2 separate regions of the Homo sapiens genome follow, and region 1 is linked to region 2. The links are contacts of gene promoters, found by promoter capture Hi-C in human tissues and cell types (Jung and others, 2019). All regions are on one chromosome and are shown on one strand. Each heading gives the region's core, a stretch centred on a gene start or on the middle of the fragment in contact. The rest is flanking DNA. Distances are from core to core; before and after follow the strand shown. Region 1 overlaps DGKI (diacylglycerol kinase iota). Region 2 holds the start of DGKI (diacylglycerol kinase iota).

Region 1 (5,568 bases), core at 2,023-4,522, 45 kb after region 2:
TTTGGATCCTTGTCTGGGAAGCTCTCAAGCCAGTAGTAGTTTGCCTCAACCATTCAGGGGTAGCTCCTCTCTGGCCAGGACCTTGTTATGCCTTCCCTGCAGACAGCGTAAGGGATGGTAGGCATTCTTTCTCCATTCGCTCCCTCGCCAGAATCAGCACTGGTGATTGTCAGGCAGGTAAGGAGAACACTGTCATGCTCAATGGAGATGTCAGACTAATGTGAGTCAGCTCTAGCTTCCCTCAAGCACAGCTGGAAGACAAAGAAACAGATTTACTGGAGATGTGCACAAACTAGTGCCTATTATGTTAAAAAACATAAATAAAACGAGGGAGAAGGCATACAGAGAGAAATTATCTTTTAAAAACATCTTGGCAAAATAGCACTCAATACACATCAGTACAATAGTGGAGTCATCCATGTGTGTCAACCTGTAGTTCTTAATGACAGGGATGTATAAACAAGTAGGTAATAAGCAGCCCAGCTGCTTCTGGGGTTTCTCTTAACTTACTTTCTTTGAAAATGAGTTGGTGGAAATACAGCTGAAAACACAGACTCAGAAAATGAATGAGTCATTTGAGTTGAACATAAAAAAGGAGACCTGGATGAGGATTTAGAGAGAAGATCCATTCAACTCCGTAAGCCTACAAAGTAAGATTAGACTAAATAGATAGAAATTTTATTCTACTCCCAAAGGATAAACATCATTTTCCATTTCTTTTTGTAGACAGGCAAAGCTCTGCCGTGAATCATGGTTTTAATGCAGACTTCTTTACAGAAAAAGAAATATATCCATTTCCTTTCCTTTCCTGTGCCCATCCAAGCTTGTTATCGAGAGGAGTGCCTCTGTACCCTCTGTCAGCTAGAATCAATGTTAAACACTGAGCACACAAACACCAAAAACGTTTACATCTTTTTATTTTTCTTCAAAGACTTCAAAACTGCCTTGCCTTTGTTCTTACAGATAATTTTTAATAGCTGGTCTAGTTGTATTTATGTTAAATGGGGGCACAGGGGTCAAAGAGACTTATTAAAAGGACGGAATGAGTGAAGGACTTCTCTTCTGACGAATGAACAGGGCATCGAGCCAATAATTAAATCTTATTGAAGCAGAGAAAACTAGCCTATATTTATATGCCTAGAATGTTCTGAGTGCTTTCTTGTAGGATCTCTTTTCAATAATTGTAAAGTGGTAATTTTCTTCATTTTCCTGAAGAGAAAACTGATGCTCAGAGAGGCTAAATAACTGCACAAGCTCACATATCCAGTAGAGAGGGGGAAGAGATGGAAGTCCAAAGTCAATGCCACACTGCTTCCTATTTAACAATATCAAACTCAGGCATCAAGCTCCTGCTCTATGCCAGGCATTTGCTGGGTACTGGAGATGTGAAGAGAGAATGGTCTAAGCGCTTACTGTTGAGTGCTTCCCAAAGCATGTGCTCAGTGTTTGCTGGTTGTCACTTACTCTCACAAAGGAGCTCCCTCAGTCTAGCCTCAGAGAAGATAATTGTGCAAAGTGGGCATGCTTGTTAGCTTATATTTTCAGAAAATGAAAAACGCATGCCCGGACTATTTACCTCACGAATCTAAGATGATATAGTGAGCGGGTGTTAGGGATGGGACCTGGGCCAAATCCAAATAGGTTATGCATTTAGCCTTCAAATCCTTGCTGTGTTCCAATGTCCGTTTAAAGCTTGTTAAATTCTCCAGGATATTTGATACACACTTACTTAATATGTTTCATTTGCAGAAATGGTTGTATTTTAATTGAAGCTCCTGGAAGTGAAACTGCGCTTTTGTAAGAAATTCTTAAGTAAGTGGAGGAAAACATTGTGCTCAGGAAAAGTTTTCCAGAGACTTCAAAATGACATGAAATGTTAAGGCCGTGTCCAGTCAAGATGCCTGTATATAAATGTGAAAGGTGCATTGTCTTAGTAGACATCATAAAGAAAAATAGCATCAAAAAGAAAGAAAATATCATACAGCTAAACAGGTGATCTAAATAATATACATAACTTAGAAAATGTGAAATCAGTGGATAGGATTCATATGAGGATCTTTTTAACATGTTTCCTATATCAGAATCAAAAATACAGTTCCAGTCACATTACTTTCTTGTTTGAAAACATTTTTTGGCTCTTTGTTACTGACCTGTAATTTGTCTAAACTGTATACTGGAATGTAAGGCCTCTGAAGAGTGATCACAGCCCCCTTTTTCAAACTTACCTCCATCTTCTCTACAACCCAGCAAAACTGGTCTCCTCACTGTGTCCTGAATTTCCTTGTTTTGTCTCACCTGCGTTTTCTCTCAGCTTGCACCCCTCCATCCCTTCTCTCCAAATGTAGAAACCTTTAATCGCTCACTTGCTTCTCCAGGATGCATTTATGGATCTTTCCTTAATGCAAGCGACCTGCCCTGGCCTTTCCTCTGGATTCCCTTTTGTAGTGTTAATATTTGCATAGTGATTCTTATTTTGCTTTGCTTTGTATTCATTATTTTTAGTGCTTGTCTTATTTTACCTCCTAAACTATAATTTTCTTGAGAGTTTTTCTCATCTAATTTTTTTGTCTTTGTAGCATTTGGCATAGTGCTTCATGAATTGTATTAATGAACATCAGTAGGTATTAGTTAAATAAAATTCAATTAAATAAAGGCCAGAGTAAGATGTGCAGTTGGAACAGCCAGGTGTTAGATTTTCTCTGACTCAGAGATGAACAGCTTCCCAGCAAGGGAAGAAGTTCGAGGAGAGAGGCCGGTAGGAGAGGAAGCCACTTCTATAATTTGGCACTAATAAGAAATTTACTCTGGAAAATCTCAGTTTTTCACAAACCATCTTTCACTTTTCTCATGATGGAGAATATCCCTTTATTAGTCAGGACCTTCTGCAAATTAATGGGCAAGTCTCATGTCCTCATAAAGCCATAACCCTATTTATGACATTACAATTGGTTACTTAGTGATAATTATAATGTCACAAATAGAGGATTATTATGATTTGAGGTGCAAAACAGCTGTAACAAAGAAAGTCAGCAATAAGTGGACATGATGTAGTAAATTTGCAGCTGGAAAAGAATAATTCCCAGAAAGATATTAAAAATCATTTTAATAGTTTTTGGGGAACAGGTGGTTTTAGGTTACATGGATACATTCTTGAGTAGCGATTTCTGAGATTTTGGTGCACCTGTCACCCAAGCAGTGTACACTGTACACAATGTGTAGTCTTTTATCCCTCATCCACCTCCCACCCTTCCCTCTGAGTCCCCAAAGTTCATATATTATCCTTATGTCTTTGCCTCCTCATAGCTTAGCTTCCACTTAGAGAACATACAGTATTTGGTTTTCCAATCCTGAGTTACTTCACATAGAATAATGGCCTCCAGCTCCATCCGGGTTGCTGCAAATGCCATTGTTTCATTCCTTTTTGTGGCTGAGTAGTATTCCATGCTGTAATTATACCACATTTTCTTTATCCACTCATTGGTTGATGGGCATTTAGGCCCATTTTATATTTTTGCAATTGCCAATTGTGCTGCTATGAACACGTGTGTGCTCGTGTCTTCCAAAAATGCATTTTTTTGCATAAAGTTTTCCACTGAGTGATGGGGCAGGGGGGCACATGCTAAAGTTGAAGCTTTTGCCAAGGAGAGAGAGCTGAGGGCTGCAATTCTTTTGGAGGATGCTTTTCCCAGCCACAAACCCATATTGATTTCTTCCAGAACATTTACTAATCCTCTCTCCCCAGCTCTCACCCCCAGTGGGTGCAAGCCTGTGCATATAAACACACTCCCTTGTTTCCCATTCAGGATATGGAATCTTATACATCATAAAAGAGACTGATCTCCATCCTGATTCATAGGACTGTCAGCAGATGGCAGAGAGAGTGATAATGCCACTTACTATCAGGTCACTCCGAATTATTATTTATTCTGTGGAGAGTGAGACTGAGGACTGAAACCTGATGTTTAATTTTTCAAAATCACATGGTTAGAAACTGGAGGGTCCCAAGCTTTCTGGTCCTACATCTAATGAACTAATGCTTTTGTTGTTTATTTTTGCACTATACTTTATAGCTATGTAATGATGTAAAGGACACAGTTGTTTTATGAAATCCATTTCCCCTTGCTCCTTCCTTTTGAAACCTTGATCTTTTTTTTCTCTTTCTAGTAGCTAATGAGATTCAGGAAAGCCGATCCCATTTCCAACTCCAGGGAGCAAGAAAGTATAATATTTGACCTTCCAGCCTCTTAGCATCAGCTGGTACTTCCTTCTTTTCTCTTCCTGAGCCATGAGTCATGCTTCATCAAAAGTTTCCCAGGCTCCTGAAGTGAAAATGACAAATCAGTGCATAAGAGTGATAGGAAGAGAAGTACAAGATTGTATTAGACAGTATAGAACAAAACACTTTGCAGAATGAAAAATTGCAGAGTGCTGACACTTGTTCTACAGAAAGGGCATCAGCACTTAGATCACTGTTGAACAACATTCATTTTGGGATGAATATTGTCTAAGGTGAGGCTGAAATTCTTTGCTTCAAATTCTACAAAATTCTTATTCTACAGAATGGTGGATTATTTAGCTACCAAACTTTACTGAGTATATAGTTATTGAGGATCAACTGGGAGATGCATAATTGGGCATCATGAGCATTGGATGGAGCATTGGGTGGGGGCAGAAAATGTTAAGGTCATACTTGAAATATCAAAGTGCACAACCTAGGAATAGACTTCAATATCAACAAGATTTGACTCAGCTGAATCTCTGTTTTGCCAGTCTTTTCTAGGTCTAGTTTTATACCTGTTAAACATGAACATTAAAACATTTCACTCTGTGTTAGTCAGTTCTTGCATTGCTGTAAAGAAAACCTGAGACTAGGTAATTTGTAAAAAAAGATGTTTAATGGGCTCATGGTTCTGTAGCCTGTACAGAAAGCATAGCCCTGGCATCTGCTTCTGGTGAGGCCTGAGGAAGCTTCCAATCATGGCGGAAATCGAAGAGGGAGCAGGTGTCTCACATGGCAGGAGAAGGAGCAAAACTGAGAGTTGGGGGGAGGTAGCACACAGTTTTAAACAACCAGATCTCTTGAGAACTCACTCACTATCCTGAGGACAGCACCAAGCCATGAGGGATCTGCCCCCATGACCCAAACGCCTCCCACCAGGCCCCACCTCCAACACTGGGGATTACATTTCAACAGGATATTTGGGTGGGGACAAACATCCAAACCATATTACACTCCTTGCCTGTAACCAGTGAGAACCCATTTGGCTGGTATATCACTCCAGTTTGTTCTAAGGATGTAGTAGGTATTTGCCAATTCTGTTGAGCAACAATCTCAACTCCAACCTTGCCATATTCTATAGGGGGGAAATTGGAATCCCCAAATCTCTTGGGTACCTGAGATTTCTCATTCTCCTTAAAAGGTCCTGGTTGTCCTAAAGCAACCATGCCTCCTATCCCTGCCACCCCTGGTATTTGCTTCCTGTTTTATTTCTAACAGTTGTCTAGAGAGAACCGTACTGAAAAACTGAATCAGGTGATTTCTAATGCCATTAAATACTTAAAGTTAGC
Region 2 (5,520 bases), core at 2,732-5,231:
TGTGAAGAAGGTCTTTTCTTTCCCTTCATCTTCTGCCATGATTGTAAATTTCCTAAGGGTTCCCCAGCCATGCAGAACTGTGAGTCAGTTAAGCCTCTTTCCTTTGTAAATTACCCAGTCTCGGGGAGTTCTTTATAGCAGTGTGAAAATGGACTAATACAGCATGTATGAGAAATGGGATGTTAGGAGAGCTGAGTCAGAAGGTGAGGGACTGCAGGGATGGAGGAGGCACAGGAGAGACCAAGTGGGGCCTTGTAGGCTTTGACAAGAGAGCTCAGTTATCATTTCTGTACAACATGATACATCCTGGAAACTTAATCCTGGAAACTTCTTTTTCTTTTTTTCCTCAGTGACAACATTTTCAAAAGCTCTATTATCTTTTCCTGGTTTTATACATAACTGAGGTCTCCAATGTGTGCATATGCATGTTTAAATGTGTCACTTTTTAAAAAAACATTCTGTGTTATTTCTGGAAAATTCCTGAAATTCCTGAAAACTACATACATTTAAAAATGTTAAATATAATGTTCTCATTATTATCTGGTCTTGCAGTCTTATCTAGACTTAAATTTTTTTTCTTCTTTCTTTCAAACTTCACATTGAAGCCCTTTTATCAAGCTCGGCATTTAGGAGACTCAAGGTTGGTATTTAAGACTAGGATGACACCTGTTTTAGATTGAACAGTAATTAATAATAGAAAGGTGAGTTAGGAAGCTCACCAAATGGGGCATGGCTTTGGGCCCAGTCATGGAAATATTGTCCATCTGAGGTCTGAGATTATACTTCCAGGTCCAGACACTGGATGTTTCAATATACCCAGAGATGCTCATTTTCTTGGTTATGTACTTATGTTACTCAAAATCACATGCAATGCAGTTTCAAAGCAGAATGTCAATTTATTTTTGTGATTAGAATGCTTTTGACCCATTTTCAAGGATTCCACTTTTTAGTGTCAAGGAAACTAAGAAGCAGGATGAATAATTACAAGGTTACTTGGTGATCGTTGAAAAATAGAAAGGAAAATAAATTGTCTAAGAGAATGACTAATATTTTAAGTAACTTCTCAGGAGATCACCCCACAACAGAATTCATTTGTCTTTTGCTGGAATTATTTGTGCTTCCCAAATGTCGCTCTGTCTTAAGTTAGAGTTAATGTTCAATGACTGTTTTTTTAAAAACCCAATATTCCTCTGATTAGCAACCCATTAATACACTATTTAAACATATAAATACACACTTGAGAGGTCCAGCTGGCTTTTCTGATAGGCTGGGAGACATTCTGTTGGCATGTACTTATTGAATCAGGCAAAACCTCAAGACTCTAGCTAGAGCCATTCAACTCCGCTTCACTGTGACCATTTTCTTATGTATCCTTCCAGAAATATTATATCTCTATAGATCTTCTTTTCTCCATAAATGATAGCATACTACTAAATACTCTGAGCATTGTTTTTCTTTTTTTGTTAACATTATATATTTGAGATTGTTTTATATTAATGAATGTTAACTTGCCTTATGTATCTTGACAGTTCCAGAGAATTCCATTGTTTGGATGAATAACAATTTAGGTTGTTTTCAATCTTAAATCCTTGTGTATACCTACAAGTATATCAGAGGACGAATTTTTAGAAGTGAAATTGCTTAGTTAATTAGGTCATGCATTTCAAACATGGATAGATATTGTAAAATTTACCATCAGAGAGATTTTACTAGTTAAAGTATATCAAAAATTTGAGGAAGCATTTGTTTTCATACCCCCTCATCAATACCATCTATTATCAAACTGTTTGTTCTGAAAAATGACGTCTTTCATTATGTTCACAACGATGTATATTTCTTTTCTCAGTCAATAAACACTTCATGATGGTCTATGATATACACACTTATGCAATTATGTTACCTGTTTATTATTACTGAAGATATAGTGATAAACAACATATAGCGTTTATATACATGTGGGATAAATAGACACATGACAGTTGCAGTGGTCCAAGTTTAGTACAATGGTGCAATGGGAGCTATGGGAGGTACGTCCATCACAGTCTAGAAAGGGATCATCAACGGAGGCTTCTAGTGGGGAGAAACATGGGGAGAGACATGTAAACTAAAATCCGATGGAGGTGTAGAGTAGTTGGCTTGGCAAATCTTAGGAAAAGGAGAAGCAAAGAAGAGGAGACAGCAGACTCACACGTGCAAAAATGGGAATGGAGAGAGCAGAGAGCGTGTGGGGTTTGCACAAAGAACAGTTCAGAACCTCACTGTCATGACAGTATGAAGGGAAAGCGGGCAGTACTCCACCACCCACCAATGTAGCCCTCAAAATCAGCTGAGTTGTTTGAACTTTACCCTAACGGCAATATGACATAATCAAAAGATTTTTAAGTGGAGGCGTGAAAAATCAGAAGTATTTTGGGGCTCACACTTGAGATTGGATTGGGGAAGATACGGCTAAAAGTAAGTGGGAGTAATGAGGGGGCTGTCCCAGTAATTGGGTTCAGATGACATTTGCTTGATTTTAGGGATGTACGAGATATTCGTGGATCTTGTGTTGAAGCACCTAATACACGATGTCCCTTCTGAAGACGGGTGCATTAAACTGGGGTGAAGCACAAAGGCCACTGAGCAGCCTGGCTTGACTCCTGGCTTTGCCAGTTTGCATTTGCACGTGTCCAAGCCCTTGAGAGGTGCTGTGAAAACATAGAGGTGGATGAGGGAAGTGCTTATACAGCACATACCGTATAAAAAGAGGGCTTCATACTTGCTAGTTGTTTTAATTTTTATTATTACTTTTCCTCGCTGCACATGGAAATGTCTTTACCTTTGTCTTATTATAAGGTACATACGAGGAGAGTTACAGAACATGGGTGTTAGAAGAGATTTGACATATCTGTTCATTTTCCTAATTTTAGTGATGAGAAAATAAAGGGAAAGAAAGCAATTTAGATTTTTGCCAGTATTACAATTCTTTGTTCACGGGCACACCACGCCAGCCTGAAACTGTTCATTGGTCTGGTTCTCTTACCACCTCGTATATGTAGGTTTATAGTTTGGTTACGAACACCACCTTGTCTTAACCATAGATAGTTCCTGTGTTTGCCGACAGCAGCGATTTCTTGTGTGGAAACCCCTAATTTGGGAAACAATCTGTTTTAAACACTTTGTAGCACATCACTCAAACCGCACAGTTTTCGATAATCTTAGAAACAAAAACTGGGGTTGAGGCGGACAGTTAAATTCTGCAGACACCACAAGCTTGGATTCGTTTCAGCAGTCGGTCCTAAGTGGTTTGAAGCCCCTTCCGGGATGCCTCTTCTTATACGAACAACGCAGCGGCGCCAGGCGCCAGGGTCCTCACTTCTGCCTCCTGGATTTCCTCCGCCTTTCTGCTTCACCGAGGGCCCTGTGATCCGATTCCATCGAATTAACCGCTGTTTACCGAGGGTCTGCTGCGCCTAAGGAAGGCACCGGGCGACGAGCAAGGCGGGGACGCAGTTTGGGGACGCAGGGGTCCGGGCCCCAGTCCAGAGACAGGAGGTCGGCGCTTCGACTTGGCACCCGCCGACGAATTCACTCCAAGGTTCCCACTGGCGGAGCTCCTGCTACCTCCCCCCTCCCCTAAATGCAGCTCCCGCTACCTTCCCGCGCCCAGGGGCTGCTGCCTGAGCCCAGCTCTGCTCACTGGAGGGCGGCGGTGGAGAGGGTGCTGGCCCAGCGTCGGCAGCTGGGCTCAGGACCAAGGTGGGCGCCCGCCGGTCCTGGTCCCCCCAGCCTCACGGTGCAGGACCCAGGGCGCGGCCACTCGAGTTCCCCGGACGCTCTCCTTCCTGATGCTCGCTGTCCCTGCCCTGGCGTCCCCAGCCCGGGGTCGCAGCCTGTCCTCCTCTCTCTCCCCCTCCGCCGCAGCCCGTCGCCTCCGGGCAGAGTTCATGTTCAGCTTGGGCTTTCGCTCGGGATTTAGGAAGAGGCCGGCGGGGCTGGAGGGTGCGGGCCGGCGCGGGAGGGCGCGGGAGGCGGGGAGCGGCGGCCTCTGATTGGCCGGGGCGGGGGAGTGAGCGGAGTTTCCCACAATGCCCCGGTGCGGTGCAGCCGCGGATGGATGCTGCGGGAAGGGGCTGCCATTTGCTGCCCCTGCCAGCGGCGCGCGGACCTGCCCGCGCTCCTGCAGCCGCCGCCGCCGCCGCCGCCAGCCCGCCCGGCCCCTGCAGCGGCGCCGCCTGCGCTCCCTCCGCGGCCGCCGGAGCGGGCGCCATGAACCCCAGCTCCTCGGCGGGAGAGGAGAAAGGGGCGACGGGCGGCAGCAGCAGCAGCGGAAGCGGCGCCGGGAGCTGCTGCCTGGGCGCCGAGGGCGGCGCGGACCCGCGGGGCGCAGGGTCAGCCGCGGCGGCGGGGGCCGCTGCCCTGGACGAGCCCGCGGCCGCCGGCCAGAAGGAGAAGGACGAAGCGCTGGAGGAGAAGCTGAGGAACTTAACTTTCCGGAAGCAGGTCTCGTACAGGTAGGTGCGGGGAGCCGGCAGCCGAGACAGGTGCGCCGCGGCGGGAGACCCACTCTTCTACCCAGCAAGGGGCGCTTCCGCGGAGTTGGGCACCTCTCTGTTTCCACGCCTCTCCTTCCCCCTTTCCCCCTCTCCTCCCGGGGATGTCTGTCTTCTCCCCATCCTATCATTCCAGGCTGGAGGGCAGCAACGCCTGCTTTCCCCTGTGGCAGGAGAGAAGCACTGGGTCCCTAAGGTCAGAGCAACAGAAATTTTGTCTGTGTGTGTGTGTGTGTGTGTGTGTGTGTGTGTGTGTGTGTGAGAGAGAGAGAGAGAGAGAGAGAGAGAAAGAGAGAGAGAGAAAGGGTTGCAGACTCAGTGATGCTTAGTTTTCTTAAGAGAAGTCGTCAAAGTTGCCCCTAAGCAGGTGTCATCTTCAACCACCCTTCCCCCACCTTCCAGATTTCGCTGGATGAACCTTTGGCACTAACTTGACAGCTGAGATCACTCCGACAGGCAGAAAAGAATAGCACTACACTGAAGAGAAATCCTTATGGAAGTTGGACCTGCCTCGAAATCCCCCATGAAGGAAGAGTGGGTTTATGTCTGTAGATGCGCCACTGGTTATGGGGGCTCCATGCCTGCGTGCTCCTTGCCTCTCTCCTGGCTGGAGGAGGGTGTGGGGAGCCCGCTGGCAAGCTAGGGGTGAAGGTGAGAGTGGGGACCATATTTGCACCTAAGGATGAGTGTATGTGTAAGACAAGGACAGTGTGGGATCAATGGCCTTTAAATTAGGATAAAAGATAACCCCACATTGTATTAGAATCCAACAACGAGGAATTAGGATTTATTAAGGTCTCTCTCACCCCTCCCTTCCGCAGGCAAGAATAAAGACATTGACAGGTTTGGAGAGTTGTTGACACTAACCCTACTGCTTATCGATGTTAAAGGTCGAGGTGATATGCAAGCATAGGTTTACAAAGATGTACACTTGCTGGAGCTCAGAGGGTTTCTGGAAAAGGGGTCAGTGAAAACATTCTTGTAACCC

What was found. Contacts are between HindIII fragments. The study calls those that stand out against the background at their distance.
Region 1: a contact is called between a fragment that was not itself captured here and the fragment with the promoter of DGKI in region 2, in 1 of the 25 tissues and cell types used here (stomach).

What each region holds. Positions count from the first base shown.
Region 1 is chr7:137,799,919-137,805,486 of GRCh38, reverse strand. All of the region lies in intron 1 of DGKI (diacylglycerol kinase iota), which reads left to right. Among named protein-coding and RNA genes, the nearest start is that of DGKI, 44 kb to the left of the region's middle. The HindIII fragment of the contact is 4,028 bases long and covers 1,259-5,286 here.
Region 2 is chr7:137,845,435-137,850,954 of GRCh38, reverse strand. It overlaps DGKI (diacylglycerol kinase iota), which reads left to right and starts at 3,981. Exons shown (of 33, transcript NM_001321708.2): 1 at 3,981-4,493. The coding sequence starts at 4,093. RefSeq lists silencers at 3,178-3,472, 3,957-4,006 and an enhancer at 4,641-5,142. The HindIII fragment of the contact is 10,065 bases long and covers 1-5,520 here.